Regions from separate parts of the Homo sapiens genome. Here region 2 is linked to region 1. The links are contacts of gene promoters, found by promoter capture Hi-C in human tissues and cell types (Jung and others, 2019). All regions are on one chromosome and are shown on one strand. Each heading gives the region's core, a stretch centred on a gene start or on the middle of the fragment in contact. The rest is flanking DNA. Distances are from core to core; before and after follow the strand shown. Region 1 holds the start of EIF2D (eukaryotic translation initiation factor 2D). Region 2 overlaps IL19 (interleukin 19).

Evidence for each region. Contacts are between HindIII fragments. The study calls those that stand out against the background at their distance.
Region 2: a fragment that was not itself captured here is called in contact with the fragment with the promoter of EIF2D in region 1 in 1 of the 25 tissues and cell types used here (aorta).

Annotation. Positions count from the first base shown.
Region 1 is chr1:206,609,955-206,615,123 of GRCh38, forward strand. EIF2D (eukaryotic translation initiation factor 2D) reads right to left here and starts at 2,511. Exons shown (of 15, transcript NM_006893.3): 1 at 2,333-2,511; 2 at 1,230-1,420. The coding sequence starts at 2,388. RefSeq lists an enhancer at 2,204-2,273 and a silencer at 2,564-2,773. The HindIII fragment of the contact is 7,443 bases long and covers 599-5,169 here.
Region 2 is chr1:206,817,414-206,822,751 of GRCh38, forward strand. All of the region lies in intron 2 of IL19 (interleukin 19), which reads left to right. Among named protein-coding and RNA genes, the nearest start is that of IL20, 46 kb to the right of the region's middle. The HindIII fragment of the contact is 5,457 bases long and covers 625-5,338 here.

The DNA.
Region 1 (5,169 bases), core at 1,261-3,760:
GCAGACAACCCTGGAGGATGAAAAGCCCCAAGTTACAAAGTAGGTGTCAGCAGCTATGGAAAAGAGAAAAGGAGACTGAGTCCCTGAGATTTGTGACAGAGAAGGCAAAGAATCCTAGAGAGCCACTCATAGCCTAAAAAATCCCTGTGAGACCTATGGTTAAAGTACACCATGAAAACAGCTGGATATGTAGCTTATCAATCCAGCTTTATTCCTATCACAGTATATCTTTTCAGTATTTTAGGAAAATCCTGCTACAGATAGTTTTAAGAAACATTTTTTAGGCTGGGCACCCTGCTCATGCCTGTAATCCCAACACTTCGGGAGACTGAGGCAGGAAAATCACTTGAGCTCAAGAGTTCAAGACCAGCCCGAGCAACATAGTGAGACCTTGTCTCTACCAAAAATTTTAAACGTAGCCAGACATGGTGGCATATGCCTGTAGTCCCAGCTACACAGGAGGCTGAGGTGGGAGGATCCCTTAAGCACAGGAGGTTGAGGTTACAGTTAGCTACGATCACACCACTGCACTTCAGCCTGGGTGACAGAGTAAGACCTTGTCTCTAAAAAATATATATATTTTTGGCCAGGCGCGGTGGCTCACGTCTGTAATTCCAGCACTTTGGGAGGCCGAGGCGGGCGGATCATGAGGTCAGGAGATCAAGATCATCCTGGCTAACATGGTGAAATCCCGTCTCTACTAAAAAATGCAAAAAATTAGCAAGGTGTGGTGGCGGGTGCCTGTAGTTCCTGCTACTCGGGAGGCTGAGGCAAGAGAATGGTGTGAACCCAGGAGGCGGAGCTTGCAGTGAGCTGAGATTGCGCCACTGCACTCCAGCCTGGGCAACAGAGCAAGACTCTGTCTCATGAAGACATGCCCTGAAATTCCATCCTTTTCAAGACCTCTGCTCTATTCCTAGTCAACCCACTGTAAACTTCTCAGCCACTGTTCCTTCATCTCAGAACTTCCCTTTGCAACCACCCTTACTTACTATGTCAGCCCTTTTTTTAATCCCTCCTATAGTGGTTTTGCATAAGAGAAAACCTTTTGCATCCTAGAATTGAAAGACCCAATTCTAGGAACACCAGGTCCATAAAGATCCTTGGGGATGGTATTGGGAGATTTCGTGCTTGCTTATTTTATGGGAGACAATGGAAGAAACAGAGAGAAGCAGATGTTAGGCAAGAACTACCTAATGGTAATGGCCATCTTCGTCCTGTTGTCATACCTGTTGGATACAGATTTTTCTCCAGTTCAAAGAGGATGGGGTTACCACCACTCACGTACACAGTCACTGCATCCCCTTTGTGAGCATACAACTTCACAATGTTGAGCTCCTCCTTTCCAGGTACTAACTCAGAGACTTGATCAGTTCCAAGGGTGGGGAAAGCAGTTGTCACATCAGCTCGAAGCTTTCTCCTGTGGAAAGCACACCAGCACTGTGAATGCTGCCTGGACAGACTTTTAATAAATATCAAGAACGAACTCAAAAGTGCTCACTATAAAATCACAAGGGCCAAAGAAAGATTGCCTGGTTTATGATGTCCTAGTCTCACACACACTCTTCTGAAACATCCTAAACTCTTTTTCATCCATTGTCATCTATTTTCACTCATTCCTGGGGTATGCCTTCCCATTTTATGGGTGGGAAAACAGGCCCAGTGAACAATCCAAGTTAGCCTGACACAGGAAACAGCCCTGCCTTCCTGACTTCATGCCTAGCCCTTGGGCCCACTCCTTTCTCATACATGCTTCGCAAATATGCCAGTTTATGATTAAATAACTATGCCATGAGACCTATAGACAACTATAAAGCACTGGTTACAAAATTCCAAACACAATCTCCATTTGTGACCCTGTCTGAACAGATACAGTTCTTCTTACCACATGTGCCTTATTCCCTCCCACCTCAGTTTCCAGCTGTCTCTCCTGCCAGAATTAATCACTAGTCATTTTTTTCTCTTATACTTTTAATTCTTGGTATCCCATCCGATCTCTCCCAAGGGGCATTAAGCTCTTTGGAGGGCAAGAATTCTGTATTCCTTCACTTCTGCATTCTCCACAACACCTTAAATAGTCTGCAGTCAGTAAACTCTGACTTAACTACGTTTTCTTTTAAACTCACTAGACTATCCAAAAGAGAGCCAGGTCCCCCTCCATCCTCACCTCAAAATGTGTCTAACCCACCCTTGCCTCCTGGGGTCCCTTCCCTGGCATACCCCTCGGCCTCCACCCGAGGATGTCGGCCAAGAATAGCGAGGGCTATGGGCCAGCGGGGCCCAAGAGGTGTCTGGTTGTTCCGTGGCAGAGCAGGCCCCTTTCCTCCCTCACCTGTCCGACCCCTTGATGGCCGTGTTGGACTTGACCCGAAAGGCCTTGGCAAACATGTCTGCTGGGGTGGCCTGGGGAAGAGAGCACAGAAGCCAGGGAATGTCAAGAAAGCGAGGGCGCAGCAGCTGCCAGGCCCTCAGCCGTGGGGGCAGCCATGCTGGGGCCCGGCCGCGAAAAGGGCCCGGCTGGAAACCAGGGCCGCGCAGCTTCGTGGCCGTTGCCGCTGGGGAGGCCGCGGCCGCCCCCAGTGGCGGTACCTGGAACTAAAGCAGGGCAGGGAGGGGCAGGGCCCAGGGAACGCCCCTCCCCCCCACCTTCCCATCCCCTCGCGGGCCTGGCTCTGCGCCTGCGCGAGCGGCTCGGGTTCCCCGTCCGTAGCGACTCGGCCACGCCAATAGCTGTTCTGTTTATTTCCTTCCACCCCATCAACCTTAGGAACTGCTTTGAGTAGAAGCTCTCTGCAAGCTCCCATTCCATTCGGTTCGGTTCAATTCCGCAAAAATAATTGAACTGATAAACAGTTCAGGCTTCGGCCGGGCGCGGTGGCCCAAGCCTGTTATCCCAGACTTTGGGAGGCCGAGGCGGGCGGACCGCTTAAGCCCAGAAGTTCGAGACCAGCCTGGGCAACATGGCGAAACCCCATCTCCATAAAAAATACAAAATAAAAAAAAAAAAAAAAAAAAAAAAAAAGAAAGAAAGAAAGAAAGAAAAAGAATTGGGAGGCCGAGGTGGGCGGATCACCTGAGGTCGGGAGTTCGAGACCAGCCTGATCAACATGGAGAAACCCTGTCTGTACTAAAAATACAAAATTAGCCGGGCATGGTGGAGCATGCCTGTAATCCCAGCTACTCGGGAGGCTGAGGCAGGAGAATTGCTTGAACCCGGGAGGCAGAGGTTGTGGTGAGCCGAGATTGCACAATTGCACTCCAGCCTGGGCAACAAGAGTGAAAGTCCGTCTCAAAAAAAAAAAAAAAAGAAAAGAAAAAAGAAAAATTCAGCCGGGTGTGGTGGCGCATGCCTGGGGAGGCTAAGGCGGTAGGATCGCTTGAGCCCAGGAGGCAGAGGTTGCCGTGAGCCGAGATTGTGCCACTGCACCCCACCTTGGACAACAGAGTAAGACTCCGTATCAAAAAAATCAAACAAACAAACAAAAAAACCTCGAGGGCTTTTTGAATATTTTTCTTTATTTTATTTTATTTTGTTTACTTGGAGACAGGGTCTCGCTGTGTCACCCAGGCTGGAGTGCAGTGGCGCAATCTCAGCTCAATGCAGCCTCCACCTCCCGGGCTCAAGCGATCCATCCGCTTCAGCCTCCCGAGTAGCTGGGACTACAGGCGGGCACCACCACACCAGGCTAATTTTTGTATTTTTTGTAGAGACAGGATCTCACCTTGTTGCCCAGGCTGGTCTCAAACTCCTGAGGTCAAGAGATCTGTCCGCCTCGGCCTCCCAAAGTGGTGGGATTACAGGACAGGTGTGAACCACCAAGTCGGGCCTAAATGTTTTTCTTAAAGGCATTCTATGATTAAGGTCTATTCATTGTACTATAAGCTAGAAGCCTCAGCTAGAATTTTCTGTAAGATTTTTCTCATCCCGGATTTTTAGTTTACTTGGGTGGTAATAACAGTAATAGAGAATTCACTGTTGTCCCAGATTTGTCCCAAAGTCACACAGGCAGGGAAGAGAAATTAGGTTTTCCTCAAAGGGACAGCTGTGTTCCCTGGAGACAAGGATTTAAACACCCGGAATCCTGGCTCTTCGTAAATTAAGTCTTGCATATTAAAATTACATTAAGCAATTTAAGTAATAAAAGTAAATTATGTTTTGCATATTAAAACTTCCAAGTGTCCATTCACCAATAAAAAATCCCAATTGATTCAGTGACGCAGTTGCACAAAGGAGAATTCCACACTGGCTTTCTAAACATTAGGCCTTCTACAATGTTTGCCCACCACCTATAGTGGCCTAGGGACCAGCCCCAACTCCTCCTAAACCTGTGACCCACTAGGCCTTTATTCTGAAGTATCCCAGCCACCAGGCCAATGTCAAAGGAGCCCAGAGGAGGACAGTGCCTACAACAGACCCCTGTACCCACCCTTCACCTCCCACTTAGCCACTCTTCGGATGTGCAATACATTTGGGGTCTTTTGCAGCACAGCTGCTGAGGAAGCCTCTTTCTTAGGGAACAGAGGAAAGCTATTCAGAGAATACTAAACATTTTAAGCTAGGGGAACTTTTGTATACCAGATGTCCTTGGATAAGAAAACATCAATTGTAAACCTAAAAATTAATTAGTGGTTGACAAGTAGGAGCCAAGACCCCAGAGGATTCTGCACCATGGCATCCAGCCTCCTCTTTGGTAGAGCAAGAGCCCCCTTCCCCAGTGGGCACAATCCCACCTTCTCTGCTTGCATCACAGACCTGCCTGCTCCCTGCTGGCTGACCCTATTGCAGGGAAAGCAGCCTGAACCTTAAGTTCAGCAAGCCCTGATTCCTGTGCCTTCCATCAGCAGCTCCAGAGCCACCCCACAGGGCTCCCAGACTGTTCCCCACTGGTGGGTCTGAGCTGCCAAGTTGCAGCAAGGCACAGGGCAACTATACCAAGAAAGCTGCCATTTACTGAGAAAAAGGATCGTTTTCACTAATTATACTTGATAGCAACTGGCTGTAAATTGGATTCTTTACAAGAGTACCAAGTATTTGGAAGCAAGGGTAGGCCAGATGAGAGATTCCATTTTCCTTAGACTTCCTTTTTCTTCTCTTCCCAGTGAGTCCTAATGGAGAAAATTTAGTTTAATTCATTGAAACTTAACTGGAAGCTTTCTAATCAGGCTCTG
Region 2 (5,338 bases), core at 2,103-4,602, 210 kb after region 1:
TCTTTTCTCAAAAACTCAATGTCATTATATTGGCTTCTAGCACATCCAGCAGCAAGACACTTTTGTGCAGTAACACTAATAATGGTCAAAAGAAAGCTGGCTATCTACATATGTCTACCTATTTATCTAGAGGCATAAATCTCATCTATATCTCTATCACACATATTTCAGAGAGGCATATTACCAGGGATAAAGAAGGTCATTTCATAATGATAAAGAGGTAAATTTATCAAGAGGACATAACAGTCTTAAGTGTTTATGCACCTAATAACAGAGCTTTAAAGTAGATAAAACTTCACAGAACTACAAGGAGATATAGAAAAATTTACAATTATGGTAGAAGATTTCTTTTTTTTTTTTTTTAATTTGAGACAAAGTCTTTCTCTTTTGCCCAGGCTGGAGTGCAATGGTGCAATCTTGTCTCACTGCAACCTCTGCCTTCTGGGTTCAAGCGATTCTCCTGCCTCAGCCTCCTGAGTAGCTAAGATTGCAGGCGTGTGCCACCACTACCAGCTAATAGTAGTATTTTTAGTAGAGATGGGGTTTCACCATGTTGGCCAGGCTGGTCTCAAACTCCTGACCTCAAGTGATCTGCCTGCCTCAGCCTCCAAAAGTGCTGGGATTGCAGGCGTGAGCCACCACGCCCGGCCAATTATGGTAGAAGATTTCAATACCCATTTCTCAATAATCCATAGAATAAGGAGGCAGAGTTAGCAAGGATATAGTAGACTTAAATAACACTGTCAACCAAGTTGGCCTAATTAACATATATAGAACACTCTACCTAACAATATTAGAATGTTCATCCTTTTTGAGTGCAAACAGAATCTTTACCAAGACAGACCATATTCTGGGCCGATAAACTGGAAGTAGCTCAAATGTCCATCAGAAGGAGAATGGGCAAACAAATTGCGGCATAGCCATATAATGGCTACTACTAAGCATTAGAAAGAAATTAATTGGTCATACATGCAACACCATGGACAAATCTCAAGATAATTATGTTCAGTTGAAACCAGACAAAAAAGACTACATACTGTATGATTCTATTTACATAATATACTAGAAAACCCAAATTAGTCTATACTTTCGGAAAGCAGATTAGTGCTTGCCTGAGCAGGGTTGGAGTGGGGATGTGGGTGAGAGGGTAGGAGAAAAGGATTAAAATAGAGCAGGAGAAACTGCTGGGGCTACTGAGTATGTTCACAGTTTAATTGAGGTGATGGTTTTATGGATGTCTGGATATGCCAAAGCTTATCAAATTGTACACTTTCGTTACAATAAAAAGTCAGCCCATTTAGAAGTTTATAAAGAAAAGTGAAAATTGTTTCTCTGCTCCAGATCTTACTTAGGTTTAGAGTTTGTATTTTCTTTCTTTCTTTCTTTCTTTTTTCTTTTTCTTTCTTTTTTTTTTTTTGAGGCAGAGTCTAGTTCTGTCGCCCAGACTGGAGTGCAGTGGCATGATCTTGGCTCACTGCAACCTCCGCCTCCCAGGTTCAAGCGATTCTCCTGCCTCAGCCTCCTGAGTAGCTGGGATTACAGGCACCTGCCACAGCGCCCAGGTAATTTTTGTATTTTTAGTAGAGATGGGGTTTCACTGTGTTGGCCAGGCTGGTCTCGAACTCCTGACCTCGTGATCTGCCTGCCTTGGCCTCCCAAAGTGCTGGGATTACAGGCGTGAGCCACCACACCCAGCTTATTTTTTCTTTTAAGGGATGGGTCTTGCTGTGTTGCTTGGGCTGGCCTCAAACTCCTGGGCTCAAGCAATCCTCCTGTCTCAGAGTTTAGCATTTCTTAACATCATCTTAACCCACACTGTTCAATATAATAACCTACTAGCCACAAGTGGCCATCCAAATTTAAATTAATTACAATTAAAATGTAAAACTGGGCTGGGTACAGTAGCTCACGCCTGTAATCCCAGCACTTTGGGAGGCTGAGGCGGGCAGATCACGAGGTCAGGAGTTCCAGATCAGCCTGGCCAATATGGTGAAACCCCATCTCTACTAAAAATACAAAAATTAGCCGGGTGTGTTGGTGTGTGCCTGTAGTTCTAGCTACTCGGGAGGCTGAGGCAGAAGAATCCCTTGAACCTGGGAGGCGGAGGTTGCAGTGAGCCAAGATGTGACACTAACTCTACCCTGGGTGACAGAGCAAGACTCCGTCTAAAAAAAAAAAAAGGAAAACTCAGTCCTTAGTTGCAATAGGCACATTCCAAGAACTCAATAGCCATTTGTGGCTAGAGGCCAACATATTGGAGAGTTCAGATTATAGAACATTTCTGCCATTAGAGAAAGTTCTTTTGGATAGCTTTTTCCTGGGCTATGTAGAGACTCAGCACTATTACAAGCAACTTAGATCTTTCACTGGCCGCTTATTGAGCACTTACTTTTGCCAGAAACTGCCAGGTCCTTTATATGAATTATCTCTAATTCTTGCAGGGAAAGACTAAGAGAAGCTTGAATAATTTTCCAAGGGTCGCAGTTACTAACTGGTATACCTAACATGTAAACCTATGTCTATCTAACCCCAAAGCCTAAGTTCTTATGTGGGTCTCATATCTCCTGTGACTGGGCCATCCCCCTTTCCTTCTATACTTGTGAAGGATTCTTTTCATATTCAACCATGGAGTCTTATATTTATCCCTCCTAAATTTTGTCTTGTTGGATTAAGCTTATTGCTCCAGATTGTCAAAATATTTTAGGATCCTCATCCTGTCATTCCATATGCTCACTCGCCTTCCAAGCTTCATGTATTTACTGACTTTGATAAATATGGCCCCCCTAAACTTCATCTGAGTGATCGATAAAAATCATTGCTAAGACAAGGGAAAGGATGAAGGCCTGTGGTCGGCTATCAGAAACCCTCCCGCTTGAGGTTGACATCAGTTTACCAGTCTGTAACCTTCAAGATACCAGCATACCAACCCATTTCTACTCTTATCTCCAGATTCTGAGGGATATGTTCTATATTTGGAGCCTAAAGACCTACTAGCACCATCTAGAATCATATGCTGGTTATAAATGACTTCCAGATGTTAGCCAAACAATGTTTGCTTCTAACCAAACATAAGGGCCAGAAAGATCAAGATATTGGCACCAGTGTTGATGCTTGTCATTTCCACTTAGCCCTCCTTGCTGCCCTCACCTCTAAAGTGGTTGTTTGATAATTTGTTGCTAAAAGCAAACCATCCCACAACAGCGGCTTCAAATAATAGCAATCATTTATTTGCTGATGAATTTGAAATGTGGACATGGCTGGGTGAGAACAGTGGGCCTCTACTTTACTGTGGCATTGGCTGAGCTTAAAGAACAGCTGTGGACTGGCACAATGAGGTTCCTCTAGCACAACTCTGAGAGTCTTGTCAGCTTTTCTCATGGCTTCCTGCCGCCTCCTCCCCACCCCGCTTTCAAACACTGCCCATATTGACCAACATGTGTTTCCCACAATGTGCCATCATTGACCATCTCTAGGGCTCCATCCAGTGTGCCTGTCCTTTTCCATGAATCCTCAAAGACTCAGCCAAGGTGTCACCTCTACCTAGGAGCCTTCCCTGATATCCCCTGCCCCCACACAACTTGGTTTGCATTACTGTCTCTCTACTGTGTTCCACAGCATGCTTTATTTCCCCTTTTCAAAGCACTTATACCACTGTAATGGATTATCCTCTTTGTTTGCCTGTCTTTCCCATGAGATCCTCAGCTCTTCAGGGGATGAAATTGTTGTCATTTTGCATTCCCAGACCATAGCATAGTGTGTAAGATACAGTGGGTGCTCAATCTGTTGAATCAATGAGTGATATGATGATGACAGGTTCTGGAAGTTAAAATGATACTATCGAAATACCAGATTAGCAACAGGACCTGGCACCTGTAAAGAGCCACAGTGAAGCAGGTTCTACTGGACATAAGATTAAATGAGTTCAAGTCCATAAAGCATTTGGAGCACTGTCTCACAAATAGTAGGCGCCATATAAGCATTTGTTGTTGCTATTATCATTGTTACGATGCTTGCGGCTTTCAGGTGTAGAGCTGTCTTTGCCAAAGGTTCTTTTTGCTCTCCCATTAGGGTTTTTCTTTAACAGGGACCTTGGACAACGTTGGCACTTCCTCCTCCTCTGGGAGTTCCCTGGGAGGAATCCTCTGGAAGAGAAAGTGTGTTCAAGACTAACAGAGTCTGCATGTGTTTTTCTCTTGGCAAAGGCTCAGTCCCTGCTCTAGCACCATTAGCTTCGCTCCTATTGTCTTCCACTGCAGCAGGTGGATGCAGGGATCACCACCTGCCAGGTGCTTCTAAGCTTCCCCAGGCACAGCAGGGCTAAGAAAAGGGAGAAGTGAGTTCAGGGACAGAGTGCTCTGGTATGCCGCCACCCTGGGATCAACAGCTCCCTTTCCCCCAGGATGTCCTTTGTGGGAAGGCTGGAAGGAAAGCCGCCCACTGAAATGAAAACTCCTCACACTTTGGGAAAGGGTTTGGTCTGCACCTTAATTTGGAAGAGGTGTCCAGGTTCTTCAAGTTCCCACAGGCCTTGTTCTTGCCCTGCCTTTCTGGGGTAGTCAGAAGCTGACAAGTCCCAGAGTTCTCTCGTCATGTCCGTGCCCCACCGTGCCTGGAATCTGGAGGAACTTGAGCACGGCAGTTTTAGCCTGAACTGTGATTAATATTTGGTGCTGGGAAAACTGGGGGTTCTGGGCTAAGCCTGAAATTATTCTGGGCAAGGGGGAAAGGGGAATTTCCAAGATGCCCTCGAGAGAATGAGCGGGGCAGGGTCCTGAGTAAGAGGCTTGCATGAAGGGGGAAATGGAGAAGGGCGATAGGGAAACACCCCTGGGTAGAAGGGCTAAGAAGCAAGATAAGTGGGAATGGCAGCTGCAGGGCCCACGAAGAGCCATAGCTATGGGCAAAGTTGGCACAAGAATCCTGGAGGAGAATGCTGGAGGCTGGTGGGTGATATGGAGGAAAGAATGGGGTTGAGATGTTCTACTTGTGCTCCTCTTCCATGTCTCAGGTTAAACCTCACTTCCTTAGAGAGGCCTTTCCTGATCCTCATAACCCTCATTCCATTCCGGAGTCAGTCTCCATGGGTCTGGATCTCAGCTCCTCACTTACAAGCTCGACAACCTTGTCCAAGTGTTTAAACTCTTTTAACTTCAGTTTTATCAATCTGTGTTATGTGGCTAAAGATAGTACCTTCTCACAAGGTTGTAAGGATTAAATAAATTAATATATTGAAAATGCTTAGCACAGAGCCCAGGTCTTGACTGGTAAGAGTGATCATGACATCTGTTTAATGGCCTGTCTCTCCTACTACTGTGAGGTCTGTGGGGCCGGGAATATG